Regions from separate parts of the Homo sapiens genome. Here all the other regions are linked to region 3. Evidence: promoter capture Hi-C in 16 types of primary human blood cells and fetal thymus (Javierre and others, 2016). All regions are on one chromosome and are shown on one strand. Each heading gives the region's core, a stretch centred on a gene start or on the middle of the fragment in contact. The rest is flanking DNA. Distances are from core to core; before and after follow the strand shown. Region 1 holds the start of SEPTIN12 (septin 12). Region 2 overlaps ANKS3 (ankyrin repeat and sterile alpha motif domain containing 3). Region 3 holds the start of PPL (periplakin).

Region 1 (4,250 bases), core at 1,612-4,111, 150 kb after region 3:
TCCCTACTGGCACCCAGTGAGGCTCCTCCCCTCACCGCCACGATTTTCAGAATTAGACCATCGCTCACATGGGAGGATTTTCCTGGAGAAAGTGTTTTCTCTGCACAGAGGCGCATTTCCTTAGGGGACATCCCCAGAGGTACGTCTACTGCTCAAACGCAGTCCACACGTCACCATCACCAGAGCCATTTGTTCATCCACTAACCACATCCTCAGCTGCTTATGGGAGAGGCCCCCGTGCTGAATCCCTCAAGGGCTGTGGAATTGTGGTTTTCAAGATTTCACCTTGGACAACAAACTGTGGTCCAGGACAGGCTGTGCCCCATCGTCCCTGCCACCCTGGGCCCTGCCTGGCCCACCCTTAACCTCTAAGCCTTTATTTATTTACTTACTTATTTATTTATTTATTTATTTACTGAGCTAGGGTCTTACTCTGTCGCCCAGGCTGGAGTGCAATGGCACGATCTCGGCTCACTGCAACCTCCACCTCCTCGGTTCAAGCTATTCTCCCTGCCTCAGCCTCCCAAGTAGCTGCGACTACAGGTGCCCGCCACCAAGCCCAGCTAATTCTTGTATTTTTAGTAGAGATGGGGTTTCGCCATGTTGGCCAGGCTGGTCTCAAACCGGACCTCAAGTGATCTGCCCACCTTGGCCTCCTGAAGTGCTGGGATTACAAGCATGAGTCAACGCACCTGGCTGACCCCTAGCCTCTAAGCCTTTAAGGTTAAGCCTCCAGGAAGGAGCGGGAGTTCCCCAGAAGGAAGAACTGGCAGAAGGTAGTGGACAGCAAAGGGCAGAAGTCGGCCTGGGGCTCAGGAAAGCTGGAACCACGGCCACCTTTCTTCTGTGAATACGGTTTTACTTAGACACAGCCACGCCCATCTGTTTACCTATTGTCTGTGGCGACTTTCTCACTGCAATGAAAAGTTGCATAGTAGTTGCAACAGAGAACTTAGGACCAGCAAAGCCTAAAATAGGGACCATCTGGCCCTTTACAGAAAACACTTGCCAGCCTGAGTGTGGTGGCGCTTTGGGAGGCTGAGGCAGCTGGACCCCTTGACCCCAGGAGTTCAAGACAATCTTGGGCAACATAGGGAGACCTCATCTCTACAAAAAGTAAAAAAATTAGCCCAGCATGGTCTACGTACCTGAAGTCCCAGCTACTAGGGAGGCTGGGGCAGGAGGATCACTTGAACCCAGGAAGTCGAGGCTGCAGTGAGCTGTCATTGTGCCTCTGCACTCCAACTTGGGTGACAAAGTGAGACCCTGTCCCAAAAAAGAAAAAAAAAAAAGAAAGAAAAGAAAGGAGAAAAGAAAGAAAAAAGAAAGAGAAAACATTTGCCAATAGCAAGGACACAGGAATGCCTAAGCCTTGTGAAGTCAAGTACCAGGAAACAAGAAAGAATTAACTGTGTGAGATGGACTTGGTATAAGAAACAGCTTATCAGGCTGGGCATGGTGGTTCACGTCTGTAATCTCAGCATTTAGGGAGGCTGAGGTGAGAGGATCACTAGAACCCAGGAGTTTGAGACCAGCATGGGCAACATAGTGAGACCGTGTCTCAAAAAAATTTTAAAAAGGGCTGGGCGCAGGGGCTAACGCCTGTAATCCCAGCACTTTGGGAGGCCGAGGAGGGCAGATCACGAGATCAGGAGATCGAGACCATCCTGGCTAACACAGGGAAAACCAGTCTCTACTAAAAATAGGAAAAAATTAGCCGGGCGTGGTGGCAGGCGCCTGTAGTCCCAGCTACTCGGGAGGCTGAGGCAGGAGAGCGGCGTGAACCCGGGAGGCAGAGCTTACAGTGAGCCGAGATCATGCCACTAAACTCCAGCCTGGGTGACAGAGCGAGACTCCGTCTCAAAAAAAAAAAGAAAAAAAGGAAAAAAGAAAAAAAAAGGCCAGGCATGGTGGCTCACTAATCCCAACACTTTGGGAGACCAGGGTTGGTGGATCACTTGAGGTCAGAAGCTTGTGACTAGCCTGACCAATGTGGTGAAACCCCTTCTCTACTAAAAATACAAAATTAGCGTGGTGGTGCACACCGGTAATCCAGCTACTTGGGAGGCTGAGGCAAGAGAATTGCTTGAACCCAGGAGGCGGAGGTTGCAGTGAGCCGAGATCGCGCCACTGCATTCCAGCAAGGGCAACAGAGCGAGGCTGTCTCAAAAACAAACAACAAAAAAAGAAACAGCTTATCAGAGAGACAGTAAGGCAGGGGTGAGGACCACAGTCTGGAAAGCACATGGCCTATTTAAAGAGGGCATCTCAAGTCAGGGTGATAACCTCTAAGATACACCGGAAATCTAGATGTTTCTGTAAACCAGAAAAAGGCAGTAGAGGGTGAGCACACAGACTCAGAGCGGCAGAGACTCTGCCACCTCCTCACCTGACCCTCTCTTATCTATCAGCTTGGGGTAGTAACAGCACTTACTTCACAGGGCTTGATTATTAAACAAGTTAACATCTTTGGGCTCCTAGAACGATGCCATGTGCAGAGTCAGGACTGGGTAAATATTTGCTAAAGCAATCTCTTCATGTTTTTGACGCTGCAACTTAAAACACATGGCGCCAATCGTGGACACGGATATCCCGCTAGCCAGCTGTGGGGCCTGGGTTTGCTCACCCCAGCAGAGTGGTTGAGGGCGTCAGCTTGGAGGTGGGAGCCCAGCTGACGAGGGGGCCTTGGGCCCCTGGTTCTACTTGGGGATTATTGTATTATTAGGCTGGGGTCATTGTGGGGATTAGAAGGGTAACAGCTCCTGCTCCTGCTGCAGAGAAGCCTCCAGGTGGGGGTCACAGCAAGTGCAGATGGAGCTCAGATTCTTCGGTTAACTGTCACCCTCTCCCCTCCCCCATCACACACACCAGGCCCTGCCAGGACAAGGCAGCTCCTGGAAGCTCCACCAGGACCCACGTCCACCAGGTGTCACAGCAGGCTGCTTCTCTCTCTCTCTGCCCCCCGTGGGCTCTTCGCACCGCTCCCTCCCAGCCATCTTCCCTGCCTGACCTTGGTCTCTCTCTCTCTGTCTCCGTCACCTTCATGCCTGTGCCGTCTTTCTCGCTCTCTATCAACTCTGCTGTGTGTCCCCCTGGGGAAAGTGGGGGCACCTCCTCCTGAGCCCCCTGCCCAAGTTTCCTGCTGGGACGGGAGCCACTTCACCCCATACACACTCCCTGAAGCCCCTCCAGGACTCCAGCCTGGCTGCAAACACCCATCCTGGACTTTGCCTGGCCCTCCAGGCTCTGCTGGGGGAAGCGACCTGAGAGGCCCCTGCCTGGGCTGTAGGTGGGGACAGGGCAGACCCTTGGGCAGCGGAGCCTCTCTGGATGGGTGTTGAGGCACCCTGCAGAAACAGCTCCCCACAGGCACCCTTGCCACACCCCTGGGACTACAGGCACTTAGGGTACACCAGAGGCATGAAGTGTGGAGGGGGTTGGCCAACGGCCAAGCTCAAATAGGGGTTCAGATAGGAGAGGTCAATGTGGGCTCCTCTGAGCCCCAGTGACCCCCTTCTCCCCACCCACCTGGTGACAGGCATCTCGAACCCTTGGCCCCCATGGACCCCCTGAGGCGCTCCCCCTCTCCCTGCCTGTCCTCGCAGCCCTCCAGCCCCAGCACCCCACCCTGCGAGATGCTTGGTCCTGTGGGCATTGAGGCTGTGCTGGACCAGCTGAAGATCAAGGCTATGAAGATGGGGTTTGAGTTCAACATCATGGTGGTGGGTGAGTGAGAGGTAGGGCCCACGGCAGGACAGACCCACAGTGCTACGCGTGCCTGGGCGTGTGGCCTCACCTTTGGCAGCCTGTCGCCCCTCCCCATCTCTTAGGTGGGCCTGATAATAGCACCTCACAGGGATGTTGTCATTGAAAATTTGAGAAATGCTGAGTCATTAAAAGACAAAAATGTGCCTGGAGCGGTGGCTCACACCTATAATCCAGGGTTTTGGGAGACTGAGGTGGGTGGATCACTTGAGCTCAGGAGTTTGAGACTAGCAAAACCTAATGTCTACAAAAAGTACAAAAATGAGGCCGGGCATGGTGGCTCAAGCCTGTAATTCCAGCACTTTGAAAGGCCAAGGCAGGAGGGTCACTTGAGGTCAGGAGTTCGAAAACAGCCTGGCCAACATGGGGAAACTCCGTCTCTACTAAAAATACAAAAATTTGCCAGGCGTGGTGGTGGGCGCCTGTACTTAGGAGCTACTTAGGAGGCTAAGGCAGGAGAATTGCTTGAACCTGGGAGGCAGATG
Region 2 (4,025 bases), core at 1,320-3,819, 210 kb after region 3:
TCAGTCACCAGTTGTTATCCCCTCTGCAGGCAAGAACTGGGGAAGGGAAAGAAGGCCTGTGGGCGTTAACCATGTAGGATCCCAGGTAACCATGCAAGTGGGTATTATTTTAAATGTGACTCCCTTGTCCCAACCCCAGAGTCGCAGCTAGGAAGCCCACAGTTTTTTCCCATGGGAAAATGCATTGCCAGAATTTTAACAGCAATCAGTGAGAAAGATGGGATTCTTTGGTCACAGATTTTTCAAGAATGTTTCTTTAAGGTGAGGTGACAAAGGATGAATCAGTGGCGGTGGGACTTGTCCACGGTGGAGTCCCTTCTTTCCTCACTGCTCCTCTCCACCCAGCAGTGGGCTAGTAGATGCCAGGCCTGTGGTGGTCAGGGTTTTTCAACTGTGGCTGTGTTGACAATCCAGGCTGGATCATTCTTTGCTGTGGGGGCTGTCCTGGACACTGTGGGATGTTTAGCGGCAGCCTTGGCCTCCAGCAGCCCTTCCCTGCCCAGTTGTGAGAACCAAAAATGCCTTCACACATTGCCACATATTCCCTGGTTGAGTGCCATCTGCCTATCTGGTGGTGTGAAAGAGCATAGCTGGCCTTGGGCTAGGAGGATGCGAAATCAGAGCAAGGAGACGAAGGCTCAGGGCCTCACAAGGCAGTGTACGAGCAACTGTCAGCATTTTTCTGCCTGCCTGCCTCCAATCCCCACAACGTCCAGGGTGGCAGATAACTTCTGCTTCCTGTCAACTCATCCCGCCTGGCCTAGCCTCGCCACCAGCTTTGGTGAACCCCACATGCGAGGCGGCTGGCCATGTCTAGCATATCTTGCGTTTGTTTAGGAGAGAGTTAGATTTGAATAAGAAGAATGGTGGTGGCTGGACCCCGCTGATGTATGCCTCCTACATTGGCCACGACACAATCGTGCACCTGCTGCTTGAGGCGGGGGTGAGTGTGAATGTGCCGACCCCAGAAGGGCAGACTCCACTGATGCTGGCCTCCAGCTGTGGCAACGAGAGCATCGCCTACTTTCTTCTCCAGGTGAGCTACGAGGGAACTCAGGCCCAGAAACCTGAGGGGCTCCGTGGCCACCCTGACAGAGATGCGAACCACTGCAGGCCACGGTGTTCGTGTGTGCTCGTGTAATCACTTCTGATTCTTGCAGCATGGCCGCCTGGAGGGCGCCCGCCCCACGCAGAGGAGATGAGGCCGTAACGCACGTTCTGTGTTCTCTTGAAGCAAGGTGCAGAGCTAGAAATGAAAGACATCCAGGGCTGGACAGCCCTCTTCCACTGTACCAGCGCCGGGCACCAGCACATGGTCAGGTTCCTCTTGGACAGTGGAGCCAATGCCAACGTGAGGTGATTGCCACATCTTTAGTGGCCACAGGAGTGGCCTAGGTGTCATCTGACTCTAAGGAGGGTGGCTCTGGAGGCAGCTAACCAGAGTTTAGGGCCACCCTGCTTCGGCACGAGAGGCTCAAGATGAGGGGTAGGACCAGAGTCCTTCCAGGCACAGGCCTTTTCGTACATCTGTGAGATGCATCTCTTCAAGCCCTCTCAGCTTCCTTTTCTTTATCTGAAACCCACCTGGGTCATACAGTTGTAAGAATTACATGTTTTATTGTATGCCAGGGGCCTAACATACTGAATGGCATTTAAATGTCATACATTACATGCAAATTCCTTCCATTTTCTTGCTTTTTGTATGGATGAGGTGAGGTGATGCTTTGAAACAGTCATGAGGCCGGGCGTGGTGGCTCACGCCTGTGATCCCAGCTCTTTGGGAGGCCGAGGTAGGCAGATCACGAGGTCAGGAGATCGAGACCATCCTGGCTAACATGGTGAAACCCCATCTCTACTAAAAATACGAAAAAATTAGCTGGGCATGGTGACGGGCGCCTGTAGTCCCAGCTACTCGGGAGGCTGAGGCAAGAGAATGGTGTGAACCCGGGAGGTGGAGCTTGCAGTGAGCCGAGATTGCACCACTGCACTCCAGCCTGGGTGACAGAGCAAGACTCCATCTCAAAAAAAAAAAAACAAAAACAACAGTCATGAGTTTTGGCCGGGCTCAGTGGCTCACACCTGTAATCCTAGCACTCTGGGAGGCCAAGGCGGGCAGATCATGAGGTCAGGAGTTCGAGACCAGTCTGGCCAACATGGTGAAACCCCGTCTCTACTAAAAATACAAAAATTAGCTGGGCGTGGTGGCAGGTGCCTGTAATCCCAGCTACTCGGGAGTCTGAGGCGGGAGAATCACTTGAAACCAGAAGGCAGAGGTTGCAGTGAACTGAGAGATCGTGCCACTGCACTCCAGCCTGAGCAACAAGAGCAAAACTCTGTCTCAAAAACAAACAAAAAACCAGTCATGAGTTTTATAAGTTGGAAGTGGGATTGTTGTCTAAAGCTTGTCATGATAATAATCACCTTTGAACAAACGCAGCGGGTACCAATGCAGCACCCACCCTGGCTGTCATTCATTCTAAGACACCTGATAATTTTGTATGCCACTAAGAAAGAAAAAATATGCTACTAATTAACATTCAACTCGCCTGTTGATTTAAAGATGTTTTCTGACTTGAGAGATGTTAAAATATGAACACTGTGTGTCTTAAGATGGATGAAAACCAGCATTTCCCATGCATGGTTCCTGACTTCCAAACCAGCATGAGACAAGGAGGGATTTGGAAGCCCTCTGAAGACAGTGCCGAGTTAGCATAACCAAGCATGAAAAGCAAGCTTCAGGAGCTAAGCGTGGCAAAGATAGCTTAGATCATTAGTACTTGAACTTTTCAGAGTGGGTTCATGGAGGACGTTGAACTTGAAGCCAGGATTTGGATGAATGGATGGGAGATGCTGGCTTTCTGTGAGGAATTAGAACAGCTTTTTGAATATGATTGAGGTGGAGATTTCAGAGGTAGCCAGTGGGAATAGCCAACAGGTGGGACGACAGGCAGACATCTGTCTTTAGGACAAAGACCAGCCCTGGGGACAGACACCAGAAGAGTAAATGGAGCTGATGTGTTATATTCACTGTTCTCATGTCACCTGTTAATTCTGGAAAGGGACAGTGTTCTACGCTTAGGGATCGGTGACTCGTGCACTGCTCAGGGTTTATCTTCAGCAGGGAGTTTTTGCCTGGCGGAACTTGTCTCTTCCAATCATCTGACTGTGGCCCACATCTTGCAGGGAGCCGATATGTGGATTTACTCCCTTGATGGAAGCAGCTGCTGCTGGCCATGAGATAATCGTGCAGTATTTTCTGAATCACGTAAGTGACCCTGATTATTAGCATGTAATGTAGTCACGGCAAATGAGGAATCATATTACTGAAGTATAAGCTATTACAGAATTTTCCTTTGCACAGAAATAACTTTCATTCATTTATTCAACACATTTTCATTATCTATTGACGCCCGGTGTTGAGTGGTGCTTAGGCATTAAGGATACAGTGGTGAGTAGAAATAGACACCTATTCCTGTAATAATTTTGAAAATACTATCTGAAAATTATGGAAAAATATTTTAAAAGTAAATAGCACTCATAATCCTGTCACTTAGAAAAATTATATAGAATAAGAAGGCAGAGATCCTCCTCTCTTTTTCAACCTCCCTGATGCCCACTTGGTTTGAGAAAGAGCTGCCCTAGGACTTTTCCTCTGCTGTGGAAAGATGTGTCTGTAGGCAAGTGTGTGCACATTGCTTTGTGTTTTGAACAAAGTGGGATTCTACGTATAGTCTGTAACTTAGAGACATCTTATAGACATCTTATCTTTGTACAGTATTCCGTGTACAATCTGCCTCAGTTAATTTAATGAGTTTCTTATTAGTAGAAACTTAGTTTTTAACATTTTGCAATTATAAACAGTGTTCCGGGAATATCCTTTTACACATAGCTTTAATACATTTGCAGTTATTTCTGTATGTTGTATTTCTGTTTTATTTTATTAATTTATTTTTTTGAGACATGGTGTTGCCCTGTATCCCAGGCTGGAGTTCAGTGGCGAGATCGTGGCTCACTGCAGCTTCAGC
Region 3 (4,248 bases), core at 42-2,541:
AAGAAGAAAGAAAGCAAGAAAGCAAGAAAGGAAAGAGAGAGGAAGGAAAGAAGGAAGGCAGGCAGGCAGGCACAACTTTAGGAGGAATCACACCTCTATTTACGCCTAGTGGTCCATTATTGGAACGTGACGCCTGTGGGAGTTATCTCCTACTGCTCAAGGTCACTGCCAAGGTATGATTTATCAATTCAAAAAATTGCAACCTCAGGCATAAATGGGTTAAGCCCACCCATAGAAGCCCCATTAAGAATAAGGTTGGCTGGGCACGGTGGCTAATATCTGTAATCCCAGCACTTTGGGAGGCTGTAGGCCGGCAGATCACTTGAGCACAGGAGTTCAAGACCAGCCTGGGCAACATGGTGAAACTCTGCCTCTACAAAAATTTTTAAAAATTAGCCAGGTGTGGTGGTGTGTGCCATCCGGGCTTCAGGTCAGATTAGGTTTCTGTCTAAGGGCAGCCTCCTCCACTGGCACACAGTCTGGGCCAGGACATGCTGGCAGAATTGTGCAACGTCGTTGTTCTGAGCCGCAATCGAGCAGCTTTTATGACCAGCTATGAAGCGCTCTTCTAGTGCCAGGGCCTGGAGTTATTGAAGTTTCAAAGGAGTTTTTGTCCACCCGAGATGGCAAGCGGAGAGCAGATTCAGGCCAGGGCACTGCGCTCAGCGCTTTGCGTGCATTACCTGCAGGGACATCCCCACAGGCCTTTCGGATGGGGTGGTGGTTATCACCGTTTGACAAAGAAGTAAACTGTGGCTGGGAGCAGTAAAACACCTTGCCCAGGAGTGTCAGCCAACCTGGGGGTGGCAGGGCTTGAACTCAGGCCGGCGCCCTCGGCAGTTCAGCCCCCTTCCCTCAATTGCCACCATCTGAGTGCAATTCGCTAGCTACTAGGGCACATGAATCCGTGCGGGTCTCTGCCGCACCTGTCTTGCGGGGCCCAGCTGGGTGTCCGCCAAAGCACCAGGAGCGCCGAGTTCCGCGGTAGCGCAGAACCAGGTGAAGGCCTCGGCCAGAGGCGCGCCGGGCCCGAGGAGGGTGGGGCTGCGAGCGCTCGCCCCGGCGGCCTTTGCGCCCCAGTGCCTGCCCGGCCTCCGGAGTCCCCCGGCTGGGGGTGGGCGGCGTCCGGCCAAGACCCAGTGTCCCCACCCCCGCGTCCAAGCCCCGCCCGCGCGGTGGCCCCTCCTCGGGAAGGTAAGCACCACCTTCTCGGGGAGCGGCCCGCAGAGCCAGTGGCCGGCGGGCGCCCCGCCCCCAGCGAGTAGGGACCCGGAGCCACTGCCGCGCCGCAGTCCGGGCTCCCCGCGCCGCCGCTCGCTCACCTGCGCTCCCGCCCGCCCCTCGGTGCGCGCCCGGCCCGCCAGCCGCCGCCGCCCGCACCCCGAGCGCCACCATGAACTCGCTCTTCAGGAAGAGAAACAAAGGCAAATACAGCCCCACTGTGCAGACCCGGAGGTGAGGAGGCGCCCACAGCTCCGCTCCGGGACGCTCTTGCCCCTGTGGGCGCACAGGACCTGGAAGACCTCCCGGGCAGTGTAGGAATGGGGGGTACGGGGGTCCAGGAACCGGGAACTGAACCCGGAGTGCGGGACTCTCGGGAACGCGGGACCGAGGCCACCCTGAAGCTGGGAAGCGCCGCCAGGTGGGAAGGGACTGGCTGGGGTCCCCGAGGGGGAGCATAACACAGGGGACTCCGGGAGCCCAGGGAGCATTGCCTTGAGGGCCTAGGGCACGGGCAGCTGAGCTGGGGGTACAGGGCACCCCCGTGTCCCAGGGTCGCTCTTGCGCAGAGGGTCGCACAGGACCGGGAATAGTCACCTGGATGAGGGGGCGGAGTTTTTGGAGGACCGGGCACTCAAGGCGGGGTCGCTGCGGGCGACCCAGGAAGCTCCGTCCAGGGGGCGCCCTGAGGCAGGGAAACTGAGCTGGCGTCGGGGGGCGCTCTCCAGCGCCTCTGAGACCGCGCAAGTGTTCCTGGCGTCGGGGAGGCGAGGGATGGGTGTCCGGAGGGGGCGGGCCACCCGCCGCTGCACTTCCCGGCACCTGCCACCCTGCGCGCCAGAGCCGCGCCCGGAGGCCCTGGGGGGTGTGGGGTCGGGTCGAGGGGCACAGGGGGAGGCACCCCCTTACCTCCCCACCCTCTGGGTTCTGAGCGGAGGTTGGGCGGCTTCGGGGCCTCCTCTTCGAAGCTCGGTTTCGCAGGGGTGTGGCTCCCTGCCCCCACCCCAGCCCCGAAACTGGCGGCGTCTCTGAGCCGCGGGTTCCCAGGGCGGCCTGGGAGGGGAATGGCATGTCTTGATGTGTTTGCAGGGAGAAGCAGCCCACGTCCCTTTTGATAAGCCTAATGTGTTCACTTAATAACCGGTTTAGGGGAGCCTGGTGGAGATGCTGAGATTGACGGAGGGGGTGGGAATCCAGCCCCTGCCTTATATCCCCACTTCGGAAAATAGAGTGGGGGCTCTGGGCTAGCAAGGACCATTTTGCCAGCTTCTCGGACAAGAGGCTTCAGGCAGGTGAGGGGCCCGCACATTACATGGCTCTCCTGTCTGGGAGTTCTGCCCCCAAGCTGCTCTCACTGGGAGCCCCCACTGTGCCCTCAAGCAGCTCCTCACTTCTTCCCTAGGCAAGGAGAGGCCTCTGGGCCCAGGGCTCCCACTCAACCCCTGCAGTCCGGCCTAGGCCGACCAGTCGGACAGGTGCAGGCGGCGGGGCCCTAGCACGCTGGAGTGCGACACTCCATTCCGGGGCCTTCCAGCCCTTTCAGAAACCCCCCTGCCCTGTGATCCCACCCACCCGTATCTCCGTTTGGGCTCTTTCAAGCTCAGAGGCATTACCCGCCTTTAGAGATTTCCCCACCCCTCCCCTATCTTTCACAACCCCAGAGACTGGGCAGGGCCTGCACACCCCTCCTCCATGGCTGCGTCCAGCTGGCACTCAGACCCAACCAGAGGCCCGTCCAGTCCCTGCACTGTTCCCTGGGGCATTGCACAATTGGATGCTCCGTGCCAGCCGTGGAGAACCGTTCTGTCCTCTCCACCCCAGAGACTAGACCCATCCAGTCCTTCACACATGCAGACACCCACATACCAGTGGTGGGGCCAGGCCTCGCCCCGCCCTCTGCCTCCTCCCAGCCTCCCTCCTTCGTGCAGCTCTCCATCCTGAAGGCCCCAGCTTGGACCTAACAAAAGGTTCTAATGAACCCAGACAAGCTGGGAGGGGTGCGGGCTTTCCCAGAAGCATGAGGATGAAAGGCATCCCATCCTTTATAGCTGCAGGGACTGGGAGGGTCTGGGGTGGCAAAGATTTGGGGTCCTGCCACTCTCTGTATATCTGGCCCAAGGCAGCCACGGTCTGTCCTAGGCTGATAGCCATTGGTCCCAGATCTCCATTTAGACGTCTCTTTCTCCAGGAAGCCCTCCTGATTCTCTCCCCAGCCTGGGGTGCAAGACCATTCCTTTGAGCCTTGCCACCCCAGCACAGAATGAGCACAGCCACAGCCCTGAGCAGATGTCAGATGCCTCCCCGGGTGGTCTCCAAGCCCAGTGCATCCCTCTGCCCCCTCCCCTTAGTGGGGACTAGTTCGCAGACTGGATTGTGGGGTGGGGGTAGCCCTGTACCCCATCCTCTCAAACGCATCTCTTGAACATTGCCTGATGCCCAGCCAGCCCCATAGCAAGTGTCTTGGTGGGGGGGTGGAGGGGACAGACTTGCGGCTCTAGGCTGTGGTCGCTGGTCACAGGGAGTGGATCCCCAAGTTATTCCTTCACTCTGAGTTTTCCAGGGGCCCGCTCCATTGTCTGGGGGAGGACAAAATTGCTGGTGAGATTCAGCATGGGGGGCAGTAGGAGCTCCAGCACTGAGAGCAGAATGCCTCACTGTTGATCCTGGCATCTCCACCCTGGAGCCTCTCGAAGCCTTGTTTTCCCTTTCTGCACAGCACGGGTGGTAATACTGAGTGTCTCATGCATAGGGCTGCTGGGAGGAGCAGTGCTGTAGCACACAGGAGGTGCCCGGATGAGGGTAGCAGCCCTTTCCGAGCCCAGGGGACCCAGGAGCCCCAAGTGGTGACTTTCATACCCAAGGTAGTCAGGCCTTTGGACTACAAAGTGTGGATTAGTGAACGGAACACCCCACCGAGAAAGCCACCCCTTCCAGTTTGTCTGCCTTTTAGCAGCTGAAGCTGGGGAGGGCCGGGACAGGGTGTGAACCCCGTTGCTCCCGTTGCCCGGGTTCCTAATGACAGGTGTG

Evidence for each region. The method cuts DNA at HindIII sites, captures the fragments that hold promoters and counts their contacts. A CHiCAGO score of 5 or more calls a contact.
Region 1: a contact is called between the fragment with the promoter of SEPTIN12 here and the fragment with the promoter of PPL in region 3, in 2 of 17 cell types (endothelial precursors and M1 macrophages). The highest score is 6.0, in endothelial precursors.
Region 2: a contact is called between a fragment that was not itself captured here and the fragment with the promoter of PPL in region 3, in 6 of 17 cell types (erythroblasts, endothelial precursors, megakaryocytes and 3 more). The highest score is 8.6, in erythroblasts.

Annotation. Positions count from the first base shown.
Region 1 is chr16:4,786,956-4,791,205 of GRCh38, reverse strand. SEPTIN12 (septin 12) reads left to right here and starts at 2,861. Exons shown (of 10, transcript NM_144605.5): 1 at 2,861-2,926; 2 at 3,539-3,726. The coding sequence starts at 3,561. It also overlaps a transcript of SMIM22 not described here. The HindIII fragment of the contact is 19,587 bases long and covers 1,974-4,250 here.
Region 2 is chr16:4,723,990-4,728,014 of GRCh38, reverse strand. It overlaps ANKS3 (ankyrin repeat and sterile alpha motif domain containing 3), which reads left to right. Exons shown (of 18, transcript NM_133450.4): 4 at 838-1,036; 5 at 1,235-1,356; 6 at 3,184-3,265. Among named protein-coding and RNA genes, the nearest start is that of ANKS3, 8.3 kb to the left of the region's middle. The HindIII fragment of the contact is 332 bases long and covers 2,404-2,735 here.
Region 3 is chr16:4,934,191-4,938,438 of GRCh38, reverse strand. It overlaps PPL (periplakin), which reads left to right and starts at 1,291. Exons shown (of 22, transcript NM_002705.5): 1 at 1,291-1,455. The coding sequence starts at 1,394. RefSeq lists a silencer at 949-1,348. The HindIII fragment of the contact is 7,029 bases long and covers 1-4,248 here.